Regions from separate parts of the Homo sapiens genome. Here region 2 is linked to region 1. Evidence: promoter capture Hi-C in human tissues and cell types (Jung and others, 2019). All regions are on one chromosome and are shown on one strand. The core of a region is centred on a gene start or on the middle of the fragment in contact, and the rest is flanking DNA. Distances in the headings are between cores, read along the strand shown.

Evidence for each region. Contacts are between HindIII fragments. The study calls those that stand out against the background at their distance.
Region 2: a contact is called between a fragment that was not itself captured here and the fragment with the promoter of LOXL4 in region 1, in 9 of the 25 tissues and cell types used here (H1 embryonic stem cells, adrenal gland, aorta and 6 more).

The regions. Positions count from the first base shown.
Region 1 is chr10:98,265,826-98,270,093 of GRCh38, forward strand. LOXL4 (lysyl oxidase like 4) reads right to left here and starts at 2,369. Exons shown (of 15, transcript NM_032211.7): 1 at 2,307-2,369. LOC124902489 (a long non-coding RNA gene) reads left to right here and starts at 2,617. Exons shown (of 2, transcript XR_007062260.1): 1 at 2,617-4,268. RefSeq lists enhancers at 1,315-1,816, 1,817-2,316. The HindIII fragment of the contact is 18,964 bases long and covers 1-4,268 here.
Region 2 is chr10:98,308,836-98,313,057 of GRCh38, forward strand. No RefSeq gene overlaps it. Among named protein-coding and RNA genes, the nearest start is that of LOXL4, 43 kb to the left of the region's middle. The HindIII fragment of the contact is 9,107 bases long and covers 1-4,222 here.

The DNA of each region.
Region 1 (4,268 bases), core at 1,119-3,618:
ACTCCTCTTTGCAGCCTTCTCTAGATTTGCCCCTTTTCCCTCCACCCACACTGCAGAGCCTAGATGCTCCCCTCTCCACTCCCTGAGGCTGTGCAGGGGCTGCCTTCCCATTCTCACCTCTGCAGCTCTCCCCCTCTGACCCCTCCCACGCTTCCTTTCCAGACTGAAACACTGTCTTCTGCATGTCACTCAGAGGCTTGTGGGGGCTCCCAGCTGGCTGTCCCATGAGCAGAGTGCTCTCCATTGTTTCCCATTCCCTCCTCCGTGCTCCCTGGAGTAGGAGGTAGACAGCCAGGGACTGAGCCAAACCACTCCCCAGATGGCAAGAAAGGATGGGACAGATCGGCCTCAGGTCCCTCAGCTATTAGGACCCAGTGGTCACATGGGTCTGGGCTGAGTGACAACCACACCTTCTCTACCACCCCCAGGAGTTGGAATGCTTCTATCTCTGCCGCCAAATTGTGTCTGGAGTCAAATATTTTCCTTTCTCTGAGTCTCAGCTGAAAAACCTGTAAAATGAGGGGGTGGCACTAGACAGCCCCCCTATCCGACATGCTCTGATGGGGCCCAGGGTAGGCTGGGCAGGTCTGCTGTTTGGCTCCTGGCTGAAGTCCCTGACACACTGAGGAGGTCTTGTTACAGGCTGTGGACAGTCCCAGGCCAGCAGCTCCTTCCTCTCCAAGGGACCAACCTGAGGGCATGGGAGGGCTTCTGCTGTAGGACCCTGGGGTCTGGGCCAGGGAAGCTCCCTTCCATGAACGCTGCTGGAAGGTGGGGGGACGGCAGCGGGAACCAAGAGTTAGATGCAGGGAGAGTCCCTCTTATTGGCCTTCCTGCCCACTATAGGCCCCCGAGAGCTTTTGCTCACACCAGACTATAGCCTTCGTCTCCCAGCCTCCAAGCCTTTGCTCTCACTGTTCCTTTCCCTCTATCTAAGACTGTTAAACTCCTACACATCCCACAAGGCCAGCTCAAATGCCACCCCCTCCATTAAGCCCTCCCACAAAGCCTTCCACAAAGCACATTGTGTGTTTGCTTCCTGACCCCACAACCAGACTCCACCTGTCTGTTCCCCTAGCACTGAGCACAGAGGACCAAGCTGTGCATCCTCCCTCAGAGAAGGAAGCGGCCTCGAAAGTGGCCGTTACTTTCCCAAATAAAGGAGAAGGGGACAGAAGAGGGAAGGAAGGTGGAAGGGAAAGAGGAGGGGAGGGAAGTGAGGATAATAACTATACATTTTAAAATACGGATTAAATACTTATCTCCATTTTACAGATGAGAAGGTAAGGTCCAGGGAAGTCAAGTAACTTGCCCAGCCAGGATTCAAACCCAAGCAGCCTGGCTAGACGCCGGACTCTCAAAACCACCAAGAATGGATGTTGGAAGAGGGGGAGGAGGAAAGGAAGGCCGGGAGCCGACTGAAATTCCACCCTGTTCTGGTGGATTTATGACCCAGGCCGTGGTGTGAGGGCACTGGGCAGGGTGCTCTTCGCTGAATGCCGAGTGACAGATCCAAGATCTTGCCAGCTTGAGGCACAGAGGCACCTGCTCCAGGTGTGCCAGGAGATGCTGGGACCTGGCCTGACCTAGCGCAGGTAGGGAGGGCTGAAGACAGCAAATGCCCGAGTATTCAAGAGAGAGCATGGGGGGTGCTGTCCTGAGGGTGCAGCAACTTTAGGATGGCTCATCCCTTCTCTGCCGTTGGGCAGCTCTTCTCAGCAGCCTCCTCTCAGCCCTGTAGCCTCCCCGGGGTTACTGACTCTGTGGACCTGAAGCAGTGCCAACAAATGGTCTCTGAGCTGTACCTGTCCAGGCTAGGAAAGAGGGGGCTTGAAGTCTTCTGCCCCCTTCCCTTCGGTGTTTCTGTCACACGCCGACCCCCCAACATAATCAGCTCCGGTCTGGATAGTTGGAGAGCCCAGATCAGCCCTGGTTCGTTGTCCCCCAAGTCGTAAGTGTGACATCTGAACCCGCCTTGCCCCTTCCCTGTCTCCTCCCTGGAAGAAGGCAGAGCAATGGTTACACACGGCGTGTACACAAACAAGACACGCAGGCACCCCTGAGGCCTGGGCGCACCACTCAGGGCGGGCCTTGGGCCAAGCTCCCCAGCGTGGTCACTTGTCCAGTTGGAAGCAGGTTGGTGAGCGACTGGAGGGCCGGGCTGAGGGTCCAAGGGATCCCCCATGCACCCTAGGCCCAGTCTCCAGGAACCCTCAGAGGCCTGCAGACTCACAGAGAGACAGAAGGACAGATGGGACAGCAAGAGGCAGACCAAGAGGCAGACGCGCGGCCAGGCGGGGGCTCACCAGATGGAGCGCGGACAGTCCGGGGCTGGGCGGGCGCCGCGGCGGAGCAGCGCTAACGGGCTCCCTCCCCGGGCGCCCTGGGGCCTTTTTATCCGCCTCCCGCCCGCGGCCCCCCAGCCCCGAGCTGGCCGCGGAGGAGGCCCCGCAGGCCCCGCCCCGGGCGGGCCTGGAGTCCGCGGGCGCCCCGCCCGGCCTTCCGCGCGGCGCCCCCCGTCGGGACACAGGCCAGGTGGCGGGGGCGCCCAGCCGCAGCCGGCGGGGCCGGGAAGTCCCGGGGGGCGGGGGGAGCGGGGGGGCGGCGGGGGGTCGCGGGGAGCGGAGCTCTCGGGAAAGGGCGGCGCTGGGCCCGCGGCTGTTTTGCAGGGAGGGCCGCGGCGGCCTCGGGAGTCCCTCTCCCAGGCAGTTTCCTCTTTTGCAGAACAAGGTAATGACGCCCACCTAGAGTCCCAGTCTGTGAGTCCTGGTGGGTGCCAGGGCCCCCGGCACAGCACCCTTCGCACGGGAGCGCCCGGCTGTCACAGGGGCCGAATCTCACGAGCTCGGTCACTTAGGACAATGTAGACGCCCTTTCTGGGAGGCCGGGGCTCAGTTCAGAGAGGTCGAGGTGGCGCGGTGCAGCGGTGCTCTCCTGCAGGAACAGGCGAGTCACCCAGAGTTTACTGAATACCGCCCCCCCCCCCCCCCCCGCCCTCCGTGTGAAACTCTGCGCTGCCCATTGTGCAGCTGGGAACACTGAGCCCCAGGCGACATAACTTGCTCCTCCAGGCAATACACAGTGAATGGGAGAACCCCTTCACAGAGCTGAATGATGCAGTCCTGGCCCTTGTCAGACTCACGGGAGGAGGGTGTTAGTGCAGGGAGCAGGGACTGTAGAATTAAAGAAATGTGGACATGGCTGACAGAGAGGAGTCCCATCAGCTGAACTGAGCACCTAGGTGCCTGAACCCCAGTCCAAGCCCCCAGTTTCTTTCCCCTAGACCTGGTCCTGCCCTTAGCCTCACTGGCCCCATCTGTAAAATGGGCAGAGGGTTCCAGCCTCCCGGTTTCCTCCCTAGGCCCACAGCTGCCCAACCTGGTTCCCCCTCTTGCCCCCACCTTGCCTAAACGTCCTTCCAAAGGTTCATTCATCCCACAAGCCTTTATTGATTTTCTCCTACATGCTAGACAGGGTGCTGGAGTGCTAGACGCTGGAGGGGGCCTTCCCAGTCTGGTGGGGGAGGCAGATGTGCAAGTAAGAATAAGCCTGGACAGGCAGAGTGTGATAGAGCTAGGATGTCAAGATGGACCTTTTCGATCCTGGGTGACAGCCAGGTCTTAATGACCCTGCTGCCAGGGACCTGCCATCCACTCCTGGCTGCCCGTGTCCAAGATGTCCCCCCAGTGCCCCTGCCCCACCCCAGCTGGGCCCAAAACATTCCCCATGATGAATCAGCAGGAAAGAATGCTCCCAGCCTCGGGTCAGTGGCAGCAGCCCAGCTCCTCCCCCAGGGACAATGAGGCAGCTGTGGGCTTGGGTGCCAGGTATGCCTAAGCCCTCTCCTAGGGCCCAGCCACCTCTCATGCTGAGCCAGAAGCAACACAGAGGGTTCGGAAACGTGGGCTCTGCCTGCTGCCAATCACTCACCAGGCCTGGCTGCCCAGAACTAAAAATACCCTGGAGCGCAGGGGCGGGCGGAGGATAGAGACCAGGGAATGAATGGATGTTGCCCGGAAGTCCTTTAATTTGCACAACTCTGGGCAGAGGCCAAGGCTGGGAAGCAGTGGAAGTGGGGATCTCTAAGGCATGCGCTGTGAGCCCCCAACCCTGAGAAGTGAGGGGCTCTGGTCCCAGCCCCAGCCCATGGCGTACTAACAGTGGGATTTTCTCGGCTGAGTTGTCATCTCCTCATCCTTAAATGTGATTGCTGTAGGGGTCAGATGGGACCACTGGATTCATCTCAATCAGCTTTCATTTGATTGAGA
Region 2 (4,222 bases), core at 324-2,823, 42 kb after region 1:
TCTCTGGTGGACACGGTAATGCTATAAATATCCACAAGGTGACAACAAGGGAGAGAGGATGGGTCTGTCTCGCTGATAGACTGTTAAGACCGGCGGCGCAGGGGGAGGCAGGCCCTGCTGGGGGCTTGAGCTCATTTCAGGGGCTTGGAGATGTTTTTACAGTGAGAATCCTTTGTTCAAATGAAAGCATACATGGAACTCTGTAACATGAAACAGATGGATAGCTAAGCTTCTCTAGCAGAAGCAAAGGTCATTCTTTGCCCCAACTCCTGCAGATACCTCACCTCACCCTCCCTGCAGCGCCCCGGCATCTCCTCTAGGCTCAGTTGGAAAACCTGTAGGTGAGCTACTCAGAGGCCCCCAGCTCTGACAGTCCTTGCTGGGGAGTGGCCGTGTCTAAGCAGGAGGTGAGGGTGAGGCACCCGAAAAGACAGTCTGTGGGGATGCAGCTTAAAGCAGGGCCCCTGTGTGGAAAGGGGTTTTTGCTGCCAAGAGATCCTGGGAGTGGTGAGACAGTACCCATCAAGCCTCGGGAAGGACTGAGCTCGTTAAATCACAAGTCGTATCTCACTGGCAGCTGCAGTCTTGGGAGCAGGCATTGGCAATGGATTGTGAGCAAGCGCATGCCTGTGGGGTCTCTCACATGGTCGGGAGGGGAGCTCAGCTTTCAGGGAGCATCTCAGAGTGTGCAGATGGGAGGGTGTTAGGGAAAAGGAGGCAGGGTGATGAGCACGGCGGCAGTCCCGGACCCGGAGTGTGGAGGCTGAGCTCCAATCCCTGCTCTCTGTAAATCTGCCATGTGACCTTGGGTTGTTTGGCTCTCAATTTCCTGATCTGAAACACAAGGTTGGATAAGAAGAGGGAGTGGGATGGAGGCGTAAGCTGCGGCCGCCCGTTCCCAGCCCTCTTCCGCCCTCTTATGGCCACCCCTGAACCAGCCTTTGCTAGGCGGCTTCCCAGGGCCTCCAGGGCCTGCGAGCCCAGTCTGGGAAAACTGGGCTTGGCAATGACCCTGGCAAGGGCATCCCAGGCCGTGGCTCCTGGATGAGAGAGACAGAATCAAATCTGCCCTGGGGGGAGGGGAACTGGGAGAGCTCCTTTGCCAAGGGACCACACTTGGGGGCCACCCTTGAACCTCTTTCTAACAAGGAACAAAGGCAGCTCCACGAGTGACTCCTCTGCTCAGAAACACAGCTCTCTGCTGCCTGGAAATCACAAAAAGACGCTGAGTGATGGGGTGCCCTTCTATGCTCTGGTTCCCTCCCAGTTTCTTTCCTCCCAATTTCCCTCCTCATCTTCTATGCCTCTATTTAGCCCTCAGGACGTGACAGTTCCCAGATCTCTGCTGGATGCCTCCCTTTATCTGAAATGCTGGTTCCAGCCTCCAGCACTCCCCCTAACAGGGAACAGGTACTCACTCCCTCCTCCCTGTGAGACACAATTAACAGTGACATACAATTTTTTAATGTGAAAATCAACCACCAAGCAGGCCAGGCATGGTGGCTCACGCCTGTAATCCCAGTACTTTGGGAGGCTGAGGTGGGAGGATGGCTTGAGCCCAGGAGTTCAAGACCAGCCTGGGCAAAATAGCGAGACCACATCTCAGAAAAAAAAAGAAAACCAGCCACAAAGCCTACTACTCACACCTGTTATTCCTCAGTAGGAGCCATGGTGCACCTGGCCTTTTGTTCTTGGTTTTTCATCACTGTACAATGTTTTTTTCCTGCTGATCCATAATCCTTATGGTAGTAATTTAGCAGCTGCATGATTCATCATTATACAGACTGGTGGCTGTCAGTCTGAGTCTAGGGGCTGTCCAGGTGATGGCATCCAACTTCTCCTTTCACCCCAGGAACTCTGCATTTACCTTTCTCCCAGCTTCATTGTCTTGTTATAACACACTGGGGGTTTCAGGAAAGATTTTATTTGGAAAAAAAATCTGTGGTTTAAGACACTTAAAAATCACGGAGCTAGATTAACAAATATGCACATAACCAAATGCATAACAAATATGCACATAACCAAATGCATCATTTCAAAGAATGGTTTTGCACATGCAGACTTTCCCTCTTTTAAAAGTGTCTCGCTGGCATTTTTTTTTCTCCCCTGCCTGGCGTTGTCCTTCTCTGGAGAATGCGTTTGCCTCGACCCTTCTATTAGAACAGGACTCCTGAGAGTCAGGGGCTGGGTCCTGCTCATTTCAAAGCCTGGCAAGGTGCCCCGCACACCGTGCACGCTCCCTTGTGGAACTGAATATGAAGGTGGCTCCACGGGGGAACTGGGACGTGCCTATGTTGGATGGACAAGACGTTCCAGTTCAGAATTTCTCAGCACACCAGGGAATGGCAGAGGTTCTCCAAGATAATTTTTGTTGTCAGGGTAGGGCCAAGACCACCTCCCTTGCCAGGCTCTGGGGGGACTCAGAGAGTCCTTGCCCTGGGAAGGGTTTTGTCAGGAGCACCAGATGAAACAGACCACGCTGGCCTCCCTCCAGGGTTCAGGACAGGCCTCGGCCTCGGCATTCATTGCTGGAGCCTTTCCCACATCCTCCACTGCACACTCGCTGGTCTGTGCCCATCACTGCACCTGAATGTCCTGCTGGTGAGGCACCTAGCTGAGAGAGATGTGTCCCTGGGCTCTGCTTGGAGGAATAACCCTTGGCCCATCTCCTGTGCTGTGACCCTCCACGCCTGCCCTCAAGTCATGTCCCCAGGAGGAAACTGCCAGCCAGTCCCCAGCAAGGGGGAATAGTGAATCAGAACACAAAGAGGCTTTTGGCTGGGTGCAGTGGCTCATCCCTTCCCAGCCCTTTTGGAGGCTAAGGCAGGTGGATCACTTGAGGTCAGGAGTTCGAGACCAGCATGGCCAGCATGGTGAAACCCTGTCTCTACTAAAAATACAAAAATCAGCCAGACGTGGTGGCAGGCACTTGTAATCCCAGCTACTCGGGAGGCTGAGGCAGGAGAATCGCTTGAACCCAGAAGGCGGAGGTTGCAGTGAGCTGAGATCGTGCTACTGCACTCCAGCCTGACACAAGGAGGCTTTAGCAAGCCAGCCTACACCCTCATTTATTGATAACCTAATAGGGCAACGACTGGCTCAAGGCAGGGTCTAGGGTTCCTGGTGCCTCCATCAGCATCACAGTGTTAGGTGTGGCTCCCGACCCTCTTCCTTGCATCTCTCACTGGACAGGAAACAGGAGAAAAACACCACCGGCCTAGAACTTGGGAGACTTGATTTTTGGAGATCCCCATCAGAGTGAACTCGGGAACAGCACCTGAGCCCTCTTTCTGCCTTAGTTTATTCAACTATAAAGCAAGCAAGTTGACTCTCAGGTCTCCAAGGGGCGCCCAGGTGTGGTGTCTTATCGTTTACACGTGGGGAGTGGGATTGGTAAGGGATTCCATTTCCTTGGTTGTGGCTCCAGGAAAATGTCCTAAATCAGGGAGTACCGTGTGAGTTATCCAACCTGGGACACTTCTGAGAGTAAAAGGGAGTTTTGTTTATAAATACATAGGGACAACACGTGGAAACCAGGTAAACTGGTGCATATGGGTGCCTGGGTGATGGGATGTAGGTTAAGCCACAAGCACCCACACAGCTCACCTCCCAAGAATCCTGTAGGTTGCTTGCTGACAGGAACAGAAGAGCAGCAAGATTAGTAATGCCGAAGACCAGACCTGTTTCTCCCTCTTCCCACTTGTGGCATGGCTGATACTGCAAGCTCCATTCCAGAGAGATGAGCCTCCTCCCACTGGGGAGTCCATGGGGCACATTGGATGCCCTGGGCGCATCACTGGGCTTCTTCCAAGAAAGAGCACTATGACAGCTTCTCTCTGAATGGCAGAACCTCTTGTTGGTTTATAAAGTCCTTTCATTGCACTTGAGCTCACTTCATCTTTATGGCATTCTCAGCGGGAAGGCATCATGATTCCCATTGTACAGGCGGGAAAATTGACGCTCAGAGACATTAGCTTGTCCCAAATCCCATGGCTATAAGTGGCCAAGTTGGGCCCCAGCCCAGGTGTGTGGCCCACTCCTCTGGCCCTCCGCAGTCCACCACACCCTGCTGGCCATGAGCTGTGGCTACACAGCACAGGCGTAAGTGCTTAGAATGGGAAGCAGAGTTTGGCGGTAGGGTCATAAATTATTTGCTAAAACCTCAGGCTAAGTACTAGGCATTCTGTGGTTTTTACTAAGTGCAAATGCCTTCCCTCAAGTA